Linked DNA regions of Homo sapiens: regions 2 and 3 are each linked to region 1. The links are contacts of gene promoters, found by promoter capture Hi-C in human tissues and cell types (Jung and others, 2019). All regions are on one chromosome and are shown on one strand. Each heading gives the region's core, a stretch centred on a gene start or on the middle of the fragment in contact. The rest is flanking DNA. Distances are from core to core; before and after follow the strand shown.

The links. The method cuts DNA at HindIII sites, captures the fragments that hold promoters and counts their contacts. A contact is called where the count stands out against the background at its distance.
Region 2: a contact is called between a fragment that was not itself captured here and the fragment with the promoter of TAF1L in region 1, in 3 of the 25 tissues and cell types used here (adrenal gland, dorsolateral prefrontal cortex and mesendoderm cells).
Region 3: a fragment that was not itself captured here is called in contact with the fragment with the promoter of TAF1L in region 1 in 10 of the 25 tissues and cell types used here (H1 embryonic stem cells, IMR-90 fibroblasts, adrenal gland and 7 more).

What each region holds. Positions count from the first base shown.
Region 1 is chr9:32,633,413-32,637,907 of GRCh38, reverse strand. It overlaps TAF1L (TATA-box binding protein associated factor 1 like), which reads left to right and starts at 2,239. Exons shown (of 1, transcript NM_153809.2): 1 at 2,239-4,495. The coding sequence starts at 2,329. The HindIII fragment of the contact is 9,470 bases long and covers 1-4,495 here.
Region 2 is chr9:32,687,255-32,691,749 of GRCh38, reverse strand. The region is part of intron 5 of LOC105376017 (a long non-coding RNA gene); the gene reads left to right. Among named protein-coding and RNA genes, the nearest start is that of TAF1L, 54 kb to the right of the region's middle. The HindIII fragment of the contact is 5,325 bases long and covers 1-4,495 here.
Region 3 is chr9:32,667,544-32,672,038 of GRCh38, reverse strand. No RefSeq gene overlaps it. Among named protein-coding and RNA genes, the nearest start is that of TAF1L, 34 kb to the right of the region's middle. The HindIII fragment of the contact is 3,952 bases long and covers 600-4,495 here.

The sequences.
Region 1 (4,495 bases), core at 990-3,489:
GAAATAATATCTGCATTTACTCTTTGACCCACTAGTCCCTCTTGCAGGAATCTATCCCAAAGATGTGCTGACCAAAAAAAAAAAAAAAAAAAAAAAAAGGATGCATACATAAGACTTTTCACTGCAGCACTGTGTGAAATAGCAAAGCCTGGAAACAACTCAAATACCTGTCAATGGGTGGCTGGTATACTCACCCAAGTGATAACTCTACAGTTATCAAAAATAAGAAGGAATCTCTTTATAAACTACTACAGAGTAATCTCCAAGATATATTTTTAAGCAAGAAAAGCAAGGTGGAAAAGTAAATACTATTGGTTATCTAAAAGGAAGAGATAAAAACATGCATACACAATTGATAGTATTTAAAAATAGAATGATAAATAATAACACTTTAAATATGATTACTTATAGAGGATTACATAAACAACCACCCAAGATAATCTGCAATCAAATTGTGAAAATCATTAAGACAGTTGACTAGACTAGTCCCAGCTACTTGGGGAGGCTGAGGCAGAAGAATCACTTGAACCTGGAGACAGAGGTTGCAGTGAGCCAAGATCGCGCCACTGCACTCCAGCCTGGGCAACAGAGCAAGACTGTCTCAAAAAAAAAAAAAAAGCATAAAGGAAAAATTTGATAAGATTGAAATTTTAAAATATATATTAAAGACACCATTAAAATAGATTAAAAGACATGTCACAGACTGGGGAAGTTATTTGCAAGCAAATCCATAATATATGAAGAACTGTTATACATTAAAGAAAAGACAGATAACCTAAAGATACTATAAAAATTAGATAAAAATATATGAAAAGGCAATTGACAGAAGAGGAAAAACAGTTGGTCAATAAGTGTATGAAAAGTTAGCCTTCAGTAGCAATCAGAAAAATACAAATTAAAACCACATTATCATTATACATTTATTAGAAATGAACAAAAATTAACAAATGACAATGCTAAGTGTTAGAATGGATGTGGAGAGGTGAGAACTTTTATACACTGCTGTTAGGTATGTAAAATGGTACAACTACTTTGGAGAACAATTTAGTAATAGCAAGTGTAGTTGAAAAAGCATATATTGTAAAATCTAGTAATTCCACTCCTAGATGTATACCCTGGAGAATGTGTCCTACATATGCTCAAGGAATCATATACATTATTTATAAGAGGAACAATTTGGGAACAATTTAAATGAACAAACATAGGAACATAGATAAATTGTAGCATAACCATACTGTAGAACACTATAGAGCTATAAAAATAGAATTGAATGCATCAACATAGTTGAATATCATAAACATAAATTTTATCCAGAAAACATTCTGGCTAAGAGTACATACAGTAAGGTCGGGTTTGGTGGCTCTTGCCTGTAATCTCAGCACTTTGGGAGGCCAAAGTGGGAGGATTGCTTGAGGCCAGGAGGAGTTTAAGACCAGCTTGGCTAACATAGTGAGATCCCATCTCTTAAAAAAAAGGAAGGGGGAAAAAAAAAACGAGTACACACAGTAAGATGCCTTTTATACAAAATTGTAAAGCATGACAATGCTATAGATTATTTGGAGAAGCATACATATGCAGTTCATGTATAAAGAGATTTACAGAGGCTGGGTGCAGTGGCTCACGCCTGTAATCCCAGCACTTTCGGAGACAGAGACGGGCTGACCATCTGAGGTCAGGAGTTTAAGACTAGCCTGGCCAATATGGTGAAATCTTGTCTCCACTAAAAATACAAAAAATTAGCCAGGCATGGTGGCTCATGCCTGTAATCCCAGCTACTGTGGAGGCTGAGGCAGGAATCTCTTGAACTCCTGAGGTGGAGGTTTCAGTGAGCCGAGATTGTGCCACTGCACGCCAGCCTGGGGCGACAGAGCAAGACTTTGTCTCAAAAACCAGCAAACAGGCTGGGCGCGGTGGCTTACGCCTGTAATCCCAGCACTTTGGGAGGCCGAGGCAGGCGGTTCACGAGGTCAGGAGATCGAGAGGCTAACATGGTGAAACCCCGTCTCTACTGAAAATACAAAAAAAAAAAAATTAGCCAGGCGTGGTGGCGAGCGCCTGTAGTCCCAGCTACTCAGGAGGCTGAGGCAGGAGAATGGCGTGAACCCAGAAGGCAGAGCTTGCAGTGAGCCAAGATCGCGCCACTGCACTCCAGCCTGGGCGACGTTGCGAGACTCCGTCTCAAAAAAAAAAAAAAAAAAAAGTTTTGCGGGTTTTTCCCCCCGCCCCTTTGCCCCCTCCCCCCGCCTTTATTCAGCTTCCGGTAGACGCTGGTAGGGTAAGGGAGCTAAGTAGATCACTTCCGGGCGACTGTTGTTTTATTTCCGGTTTATGCGACCCGGCTGCGATTTGCTGCTGAGGGCAGCAGCTACCGTCACTGCCGCCATCATGTCAGACTCGGACAGCGAGGAAGATTCATCTGGAGGTGGCCCATTTACTTTAGCGGGTATCCTTTTCGGCAACATCAGTGGAGCGGGGCAGCTGGAGGGGGAAAGCGTCTTGGATGATGAGTGTAAGAAGCACTTGGCAGGCTTGGGGGCTTTGGGGCTGGGCAGCCTAATCACTGAACTCACGGCAAATGAAGAATTGACTGGGACTGGCGGTGCCTTGGTAAATGATGAAGGGTGGATTAGGAGTACAGAAGATGCTGTAGACTATTCAGACATCAATGAGGTGGCAGAAGATGAAAGCCAAAGACACCAGCAGACGATGGGGAGCTTGCAGCCCCTTTACCACTCGGATTATGATGAAGATGACTATGATGCTGATTGTGAAGACATTGATTGCAAGTTGATGCCTCCTCCACCTCCACCCCCGGGACCAATGAAGAAGGATAAGGACCAAGATGCTATTACCTGTGTGTCTGAAAGTGGAGAAGACATCATCTTGCCCTCCATCATTGCCCCTTCCTTTTTGGCCTCAGAGAAAGTGGATTTCAGTAGTTACTCTGATTCAGAATCTGAGATGGGACCTCAGGAAGCAACACAGGCAGAATCTGAGGATGGAAAGCTGACCCTTCCATTGGCTGGGATTATGCAGCATGATGCCACCAAGCTGTTGCCAAGTGTCACCGAACTTTTTCCAGAATTTCGACCTGGAAAAGTGTTACGCTTCCTACATCTTTTTGGACCAGGGAAGAATGTCCCATCTGTTTGGCGGAGTGCTCGGAGAAAGAGGAAGAAGCATCGTGAGCTGATACAGGAAGAGCAGATCCAGGAGGTGGAATGCTCAGTAGAATCAGAAGTCAGCCAGAAGTCTTTGTGGAACTATGACTATGCTCCACCACCACCCCCAGAGCAGTGTCTCGCTGATGATGAAATCACGATGATGGTTCCTGTGGAGTCCAAATTTTCCCAATCAACTGGAGATGTAGATAAAGTGACAGATACCAAACCAAGAGTGGCTGAGTGGCGTTATGGGCCTGCCCGACTGTGGTATGATATGCTGGGTGTCTCCGAAGATGGCAGTGGGTTTGACTATGGCTTCAAACTGAGAAAGACACAACATGAACCTGTGATAAAATCTAGAATGATGGAGGAATTTAGGAAACTTGAGGAAAGCAATGGCACTGATCTTCTGGCTGACGAAAACTTCCTGATGGTGACACAGCTGCATTGGGAGGATTCTATCATCTGGGATGGGGAGGATATCAAACACAAAGGGACAAAACCTCAGGGTGCAAGCCTGGCAGGCTGGCTTCCTTCTATTAAGACTAGGAATGTAATGGCTTACAATGTTCAGCAAGGTTTTGCACCCACTCTGGATGATGACAAACCTTGGTACTCCATTTTTCCCATTGACAATGAGGATCTGGTGTATGGACGCTGGGAGGACAATATCATTTGGGATGCTCAGGCCATGCCCCGGCTGTTGGAACCTCCTGTTTTGGCACTTGATCCCAATGATGAGAACCTCATTTTGGAAATTCCTGATGAGAAGGAAGAGGCCACCTCTAACTCCCCCTCCAAGGAGAGTAAGAAGGAATCATCTCTGAAGAAGAGTCGAATTCTCTTGGGCAAAACAGGTGTCATCAGGGAGGAACCACAGCAGAACATGTCTCAGCCAGAAGTGAAAGATCCATGGAATCTCTCCAATGATGAGTATTATTTCCCCAAGCAACAGGGTCTTCGGGGCACCTTTGGAGGGAATATTATCCAGCATTCAATTCCTGCTATGGAATTATGGCAGCCCTTCTTTCCCACCCACATGGGGCCCATCAAAATCCGGCAGTTCCATCGCCCACCTCTGAAAAAGTACTCATTTGGTGCACTCTCTCAGCCAGGTCCCCATTCAGTCCAACCTTTGCTAAAGCACATCAAAAAAAAGGCCAAGATGAGAGAACAAGAGAGGCAAGCCTCAGGTGGTGGAGAGTTGTTTTTTATGCGCACACCTCAGGATCTCACAGGCAAAGATGGAGATCTTATTCTTGCAGAATATAGTGAGGAAAATGGACCCTTAATGATGCAGGTTGGCATGGCAACCAAGATAAAGAACTATT
Region 2 (4,495 bases), core at 875-3,374, 54 kb before region 1:
AACGTACTGTAAATAGTTCCAACATCATCATATTGTTTTTGTGTTTTGGATTTGCATGAAAGAACAATAATGATGAAACTCATTCCAATCATAATGTTTATGTTTAATACTGTGAGGAGTTGTACTTTTTTTAGCCCATTGAGCACTGAAGCTCAATTTTAGTGTACAGATCAAGACAAAATCATAACCTTTTAAATGTGTTGCTATATACTATTAATGGCATTATATTAAAATAACTTTGGGCATCAGAGTAGATCAATCTACTTTGGAGGTATGGGCTGAAAATGTTTATAAAATGTTTTATTAAAGTGATTAATAATGAAATATAAATAATTACAGATATTTTCATTGTTCTTTTTATACAGAAGATACACAGAAACTATGATGCAGATTGACTTAGATCAAGGCCATGCTATGTGTGTAATACACTGGTATTATGATATAGATATAAATGACTGTACTTAGTTTTGGTAGAGTGGTTGCCACAAAAATGTTTATCATTTTTGTCAACGAAGGTCAACACATAAAGGCCTGCTCATTTTTTAAATGGAGGTTGAGGTAATGTTATAAATGTGAATTTAAAAGACAGGTTGATGGTCTGATAGGTTTAGATTAGGGAGGAGGCTGTATCCAGCAGAGAACAGCATAAGGAAAGCAAAAGGCACATACTGGGAATCAAGTTTAATAGTTCAGGATACCTGCTCATTGGTAAATAGTGAAATGCAAGGCTAGAATTCTGGGGTAACCTGGCTTGGTAATGATATATATCTATCTATATCTATATATATCACCTTCTGTCATTATATATATATTGAGATGGAGTCTTGCTCTGTTGCCTAGGTTGGAGTGCAGTGGCACTATCTCCACTCACTGCAACCTCCACCTCCCAGGTTCAAGCAATTCTCCTGCTTCAGACTCCCGAGTAGCTGGGATTACAGGCACCCACCACCATGCTCGGCTAATTTTTGTATTTTAGTAGAGATGAAGTTTCACTATGTTGGCCAGGCTGGTCTCGAACTCCTAACCTCAAGTGATCTGCCCACCTTGGCATCCCAAAGTGCGGGATTACAGGCATAAACCACTGTGCCCAGCCAATAATGATAATTATAACGAGAAATAAGCCTTTTAAAGGTTAAGAAAGAGTCACTGAAGTATGATAAATGAAACTAGGAGTCATTAATTTGTTTCCAATTTACCAGATTGGAAGTGAATGGGACTGTTGACATTGGGAAGAGAAAAGGCCTAGTTATCCCATTACTAGTAGTATCGAAACATAGAGGCTGCAGCTACTACAAGGAGAACTGCGTATCTTAGTAGGAAGAGAGGAGGTGATAAGTACAGAGCCTTTCTCTCTTCTCCATCCTGCCCTTATGCCACTGCCAACCTTTTACTCTAAATAACATCTCAGTCTACCCGAGCAAGAATACATTGCTTTGGATATGGCACATTAAGAAAATGAACATGGTTTTACAGCATGGGACACAATTTTTTTTTTATACTTTAAGTTTTAGGGTACATGTGCACCACATGCAGGTTTGTTACATATGTACACATGTGCCATGTTGGTGTGCTGCACCCATTAACTCGTCATTTAGCATTAGGTATATCTCCTAATGCTATCCCTCCCCACTCCCCCCACTCCACAACAGTCCCCGGTGTGTGATGTTCCCCTTCCTGTGTCCATGTGTTCTCATTGTTCAATTCCCACCTATGAGTGAGAACATGTGGTGTTTGGTTTTTTGTCCTTGCGATAGTTTGCTGAGAATGATGGTTTCCAGCTTCATCCATGTCCCTACAAAGGATATAAACTCATCCTTTTTTATGGCTGCATAGTATTCCATGGTGTATATGTGCCACATTTTCTTAATCCAGTCTATCATTGTTGGACATCTGGGTTGGTTCCAAGTCTTTGCTATTGTGAATAGTGCCGCAATAAACATACGTGTGTATGTGTCTTTATAGCAGCATGATTTATAATCCTTTGGGTATATACCCAGTAATGGGATGGCTGGGTCAAATGGTATTTCTAGTTCTAGATACCTGAGGGATCGCCACACTGACTTCCACAATGGTTGAACTAGTTTACAGTCCCACCAACAGTGTAAAAGTGTTCCTATTTCTCCACATCCTCTCCAGCACCTGTTGTTTCCTGACTTTTTAATGATCGCCATTCTAACTGGTGTGAGATGATATCTCATTGTGGTTTTGATTTGCATTTCTCTGATGGCCAGTGATGATGAGCATTTTTTCTGTGTTTTTTGGCTGCATAAATGTCTTCTTTTGAGAAGTGTCTGTTCATATCCTTCACCCACTTTTTGATGGGGTTGTTTGTTTTTTTCTTGTAAATTTGTTTTGAGTTCATTGTAGATTCTGGATAATAGTCCTTTGTCAGATGAATTGGTTGCAAAAATTTTCTCCCATTCTGTAGGTTGCCTGTTCACGCTGATGGTAGTTTCTTTTGCTGTGCAGAAGCTCTTTAGTTTAATTAGATCCCATTTGTCAATTTTGGCTTTTGATGCCATTGCTTTTGGTGTTTTAGACATGAAGTCCTTGCCCATGCCTATATCCTGAATGGTATTGCCTAAGTTTTCTTCTAGGCTTTTTATGGTTTTAGGTCTAATATTTAAGTCTTTAATCCATCTTGAATTAATTTTTGTATAAGGTGTAAGGAAGGGATCCAGTTTCAGCTTTCTACATATGGCTAGCCAGTTTTCCCAGCACCATTTATTAAATCGAGAATCCTTTCCCCGTTTCTTGTTTTTGTCAGGTTTGTCAAAGATCAGATAGTTGTAGATATGTGGAATTATTTCTGAGGGCTCTGTTCTGTTCCATTGGTCTATATCTCTGTTTAGATACCAGTAGCATGCTGTTTTGGTTACTGTAGCCTGAAGTCAGGTAGCCTGATGCCTCCAGCTTTGTTCTTTTGGCTTAGGACTGACTTGGCAATGTGGGCTCTTTTTTGGTTCCATATGAACTTTAAAATAGTTTTTTCCAATTCTGTGAAGAAAGTCATTGGTAGCTTGATGGGGATGGCATTGAATCTATAAATTACCTTGGGCAGTATGGCCATTTTCACGATATTGATTCTTCCTACCCATGAGCATGGAATGTTCTTCCATTTGTTTGTAATCCTCTTTTATTTCATTGAGCAGTGGTTTGTAGTTCTCCTTGAAGAGGTCCTTCACATCCCTTGTAAGTTGGATTCCTAGGTATTTTATTCTCTTTGAAGCAATTGTGAATGGGAGTTCACTCATGATTAGGCTCTCTGTTTGTCCGTTATTGGTGTATAAGAATGCTTGTGATTTTTGTACATTGATTTTGTATCCTGAGACTTTGCTGAAGTTGCTTATCAGCTTAAGGAGATTTTGGGCTGAGATGATCGGGTTTTCTAGATATACAGTCATGTCATCTGCAAACAGGGATAATTTGACTTCCTCTTTTCCTAATTGGATGCCCTTTATTTCCTTCTCCTGCCTGATTGCCCAGGCCAGAACTTCCAACACTATGTTGAATACGAGTGGTGAGAGAGGGCATCCCTGTCTTGTGCCAGTTTTCAAAGGGAATGCTTTCAGTTTTTGCCCATTCAGTATGATATTGGCTGTGGGTTTGTCATAGATAGCTCTTATTATTTTGAGATATGTCCCATGAATACCTAATTTATTGAGAGTTTTTAACATGAAGGGTTGTTGAATTTTGTCAAAGGCCTTTTCTGCATCTATTGAGATAATCATGTGGTTTTTGTCTTTGGTTCTGTTTATATGCTGGATTACATTTATTGATTTTCGTATGTTGAACCAGCCTTGCATCCCAGGGATGAAGCCCACTTGATCATGGTGGATAAGCTTTTTGATGTGTTGCTGGATTCGGTTTGCCAGTATTTTAATGAGGATTTTTGCATCAATGTTCATCAAGGATATTGGTCTAAAATTCTCTTTTTTTGTTGTGTCTCTGCCAGGCTTTGGTTTCAGGATGATGCTGTCCTCATAAAATAAGTTCAGGAGGATTCCCTCTTTTTTTATTGATTGGAATAGTTTCAGAAGGAATGATACCAGCTCCTCCTTGTACCTCTGGTAGAATTCAGCTGTGAATCCATCTGGTCCTGGACTTTTTTTGGTTGGTAAGCTGTTAATTATTGCCTCAATTTCTGAGCCTGTTATTGGTCTATTCAGAGATTCAACTTCTTCCTGGTTTAGTCTTGGGAGAGTGTACATGTCCAGGAATTTATCCATTTCTTCTAGATTTTCTAGTTTATTTGCGTAGAGGTGTTTATAGTATTCTCTGATGGTAGTTTGTATTTCTGTGGGATCAGTGGTGATATCCCCTTTGTCATTTTTTATTGCGTCTATTTGATTCTTCTCTCTTTTCTTCTTTATTAGTCTTGCTAGCGGTCTATCAATTTTGTTGATCTTTTCAAAAAACCAGCTCCTGGATTCATTGATTTTTTGAAGGGGTTTTTGTGTCTCTATTTCCTTCAGTTCTGCTCTGATCTTAGTTA
Region 3 (4,495 bases), core at 1,326-3,825, 34 kb before region 1:
CCCAATGCCTATGTGATGGGTGAGTGAGCCCTTCATGACCAGCCTTGTTTGCCAGCCTCTGTTGTTTCTTTCATATGCCATCAGGCGAAAGCAGTTCTCCCCACAAAGGAGGCCCCATCAACTTGGTGGAGGTGGAGGTGGCTGGTTGGGGTTGGACACCTGCTTCAGTCAAGTCTGCTGAACAGTGTAGTGGCTTCCAGCTGGCTAGGGGGTGCTTTCTGCCTCACCTGCAGCCTCATACTTCTGCACCCTTTCTGGTTGAGAATCTCTTGCCCAGGACACTTTTGTGTTCAGAGTGAATTTCCTGACAAGTAGCAAATTTAAGTGTCCCCTGCCAGAAGCGCACTGAGCATGCAGAGCCCCATCCCTTTTATTTTTAATGTGCATCAGTATGAGGCAGTCCCAAAGAGGGTGCTCTGGGCAGAGCTCAGCAAACATCTGGCCTGTGGAAGAGGCCTCAGCAACACAGCTCTGGAAGGAGGTGGGAACAGGCAAGAGCTTTGAAAGGCTGCAGATGGTGAGGGTGCCAGGGTGACAGACTGTGGGTGGCAGTTTTCTTTGTATTCCAAATAGGCTGAGGATTTTCTCTCCTTTCACTGTAATCCCTGGAAGAAAATGGGGACAGGAAGAGTAGCAGGCAGAGGCAAATTTCTTATCCTGGGGTCTGTGGATGGGCTTCCAAAGAGGCTTGAGTTCTGAAGCCCTTGGAATTTGTATAGAATTGTATAAATTTTGTGTCCATGTATGTTTTTCATAACAGAAGGTTTCTTTTATCAGCTCCTTAAAGGAGTACATGACCCAAACATGTCAAGATCCACTGGTGTAAAGATCAAATCCATCTCTAAGCTCTTTAGAATGAATCAGTTGTCTCATTCTGGAGGAAAAGATTCAACCACAATTCTCATTTCTCCTGCTACCCTTCTCACCCATACCTGATGTCATTTTTAAAAGGATGTGTGCACATAGAAAACAAGTACATAAGGAAAATCCTACTTTCTTTTATAACGGGTACATATTTAAGTTCCAAACTGAGGCATGCAGAAAATATGTTTCTTTTTCTTTTCTAAAATTCACACTGATTTCTGTTTTGAGCCCCCATTCTATTTATATGGCAGAGACTTAATCTTGATGTTAGGGATTTTCTATTACTCTCTCCATCCCAGGGGATTGTGTCTCAGTTCTGAGCTGGGGCACCAGATGTAATAGGAAACATCCCATCTTCTATGCCTTTGGTCCACCAAGGCATCTGCTGAGATCCAACCTTCATGCCATTGGGTCCTTAGCTGTGGACCATACGTGTCACACTGAGCTTTCCATCTGCTGGTCCTGGCCTCAGCACACTTCCCACAAACATCAGGCCTGTCGGAAGACATCCTTAGCCATGGACCACACATGTCACCCCTGAGCTGTCCATCTGCTGGTCCTGAGCTCAGCAGATCTCCCACTATCTTTACGATGAGTCTCTGGAGCTGCATGGGGCTCTGCATAAGCTAAAGCTTCACAGTCTTGCTGTCTTCCCAGGCCCCTTTGGCCCAGGAAAGGGGGTACAGGGCTCTTCTTGTTCAGGTCCACCATTTATTTTTTCAAGAAGAAGGTGGAAAGTTTCGGTTGGTGCAAACCTTTCTGATTTCAAATGTTGAAAATCAATTCATTTTGGAAAAGTATCACCGCAGGGCCAACAAAACACATCTGTGACTCAGTTTTGCCCTAAGCGCTACCACTTTGCAGCCTCTGTCCTAAAGGCTTAGAATTCTAGAAGCCAAAGCAGGGGTGACACCCCTCTTTTTAAAAATGTTACTTTAAGTTCTGGGATACAGAATGTGTGCAGGTTTGCTATATAGTTATACATGTGCCATGGTGGTTCCTGCACCTATCGACCCATCATCTAGGTTTTAAGCCCCACATGCATTAGGTATTTGTCCTAATGCTCTCCCTCTCCTTGTCCGCCACCCCCAACAAGCCCTGGTGTGTGCATCCATGTGTTCTCATTGCTTAACTTGCATCCATGTGTTCTCATTGTTTAAATCCCACTTATGAGTGAGAACATGCAGTGTTTGGTTTTCTGTTCCTGTGTTAGTTTGCTGAGGATGATGGCTTCCAGCTTCATCCATGTCCCTGCAAAGGACATGAACTCATTCTCTTTTATGTCTGCATAGTATTCCATGGTGTGTATGTACATTTTCTTTATCCAGTCTATCATTGATGGGCATTTGGGTTGGTTCCATGTCTTTGCTATTGTAAATAGTGCTGCAATAAACATACATGTGCATGTGTCTTTACAGTAGAATTATTTCTATTCCTTTGGGTATATACCCAGTAATGGGATTGCTGGGTCAAATGGTATTTCTGGTTCTAGAAACCTGAGGAATCACCACACTGTCTTCCACAATGGTTGAACTAATTTATAATCCCACCAACAGTGTAAAAGTGTTCCTATTTGTCTGCAACCTCACCAGCATCTATTGTTTCCTGACTTTTTAATAATTGCCATTCTGACTGGCATGAGATAGACACCGTTTTTTTCTGCTTTCAAATGTGTCATAACTCTTCCCAAGGCCATAAACTCAGAATTGTCTACTTACTTGAACAGAAGCAAAGGGCATAGGGGAGATATCTGGGGGCAAAACATTGGTTACTATTTCTAATTTATTATCCTTCTACACCTTGATGTTGAGCTTGTAAAAACAGATTCTATATTTTGAAAAAGTAAGCTTCTTCCATATCCAAGAAAAAAGACTTGTAATTGGACATATTTTTCAATAAAGTAATCCTACAAAGCAAATGTTTTCTATGGAATTGTAGAGCTTTATATTGGGTCTCTTGAATGATGTTTAAATCCAATCCCGGAGACTGGGTTATATGAATGAGACAACTGAAGCCCAGAGAGGTAAGTTGCTTGGCCTTGGTCACCTAGCAAGTCACTGCCAGCCAGATATGCAGTCTCTCTCAACTGTTTGTCTAGCACCTCCTCCCAGACAAGCCAAGGCCCATGGCACTACGCTCTGCTTGGAGTGGGAGTCGGATGTGGCACGGGAATGAGGGCGATGGTGGAATGCAGCACTTAAAGCCAAGTTAGGAAGACCCAAGAGGCAATGGCCCCAGGAGAAGTCAAGTCAAAGGGCACTGACAGCCCAAAGGCAGCCACCCCCAAAAGGGACCCAGGAAAGAGGAAGAATCAATGGACAGGCACCAGGTCAGAAACCAGGGAAATCAGCCCAGCAAACATTGGGCAGGACCCAGAGCTGTCATAGGACCCGAAGCTTTCTGTAGGGGGGCAGAGGCCTTGGGAAGATGGGTGGAAAGGCCCGTCAGTGAAACCAAAGCAACTAGGACACTTCGTACCATAGTTGGGAGGTGCCTCAAAGGGACACTTCTGCCAGAAAGATCTTAAAATAACTTCGAATTCAATTACTCTTCTTCTTAAGACTATCTAGGAATTTCCTGTTGCCTATAGGATAAAATTCTAACTTCAAGCTTGTCCAACCCGTGGGCCGTGGGCAGCATGCAGCCCAGGATGGCTTTGAATGTGGCCCAACACAAATTTGTAAACTTTCTTAAAACATTATGAGATTTTTCTGCAATTTTTTTTTTTGGCTCATCAGCTATCATTAGTGTTAGTGTGTTTTATGTGTGGCCCAAGATAATTCTTCTTCTTCCAGTATAGCCAAGGGAAACCGAAAGATTGGATACCCCTGTTCTAACTCTTTGTATGCCACATTCTTTATACCCCATGTACATTTCTAGTATCTTTCAATACCATTACCCAACCTTTTGATGCTCTAGCCCAAAGTGGTTTTTCACCCCAGTGGTTTTTCAGCACTATCACGACTTTCTAAGGTGCAGGAGAACCATGCAGAAGACTTGAAAAGACAGATTGCCGGATCTCCAACCCGAGTTTCTATTTCAGTAGATCTGGAATGGGCCCTGAAAATCTGTATTTCTTCTGGGTTCCCAGGTGATGCTGATGGTACTGGCACCATACTTTGAGAACCACTGTTCTATCCACTTGCTAGAATGTGCTGTGGGCCAGCAGCATCAGCATCACCTGGGAGCTTGTTAGAAACGCAGGTTCTCAGGCCCACCCCAGGCCTATTGGATTAGAATTTATACATGTGTATATATATATGTATATATAAAATTTCAATGGCTTTTGGGGTTTGGGGTTGCATGGATGAATTATATAGCAGTGAATTCTGAGATTCTAGTGCACTTATTATCCGAGTATTGTACATTGTACCCAATATGCAGTTTTTTATCCCTCACCTCCCTCCCCCTTCTGAGTCTCCAAAGTCCATTATATCACTCTGTATGCATTTGCAAACTCATAGCTTAGCTCCCACTTATAAGTGAGAACACATGGTTTTTGGTTTTCCATTTCTGAGTTACTTCACTTAGAATAATGGCCTCTAACTCCATCCAAGTTGCTACAAATAAAACATTATTTTGTTCCTTTTTATGGCCAAACAGTATTCCATGGTGTATATATACCACATTT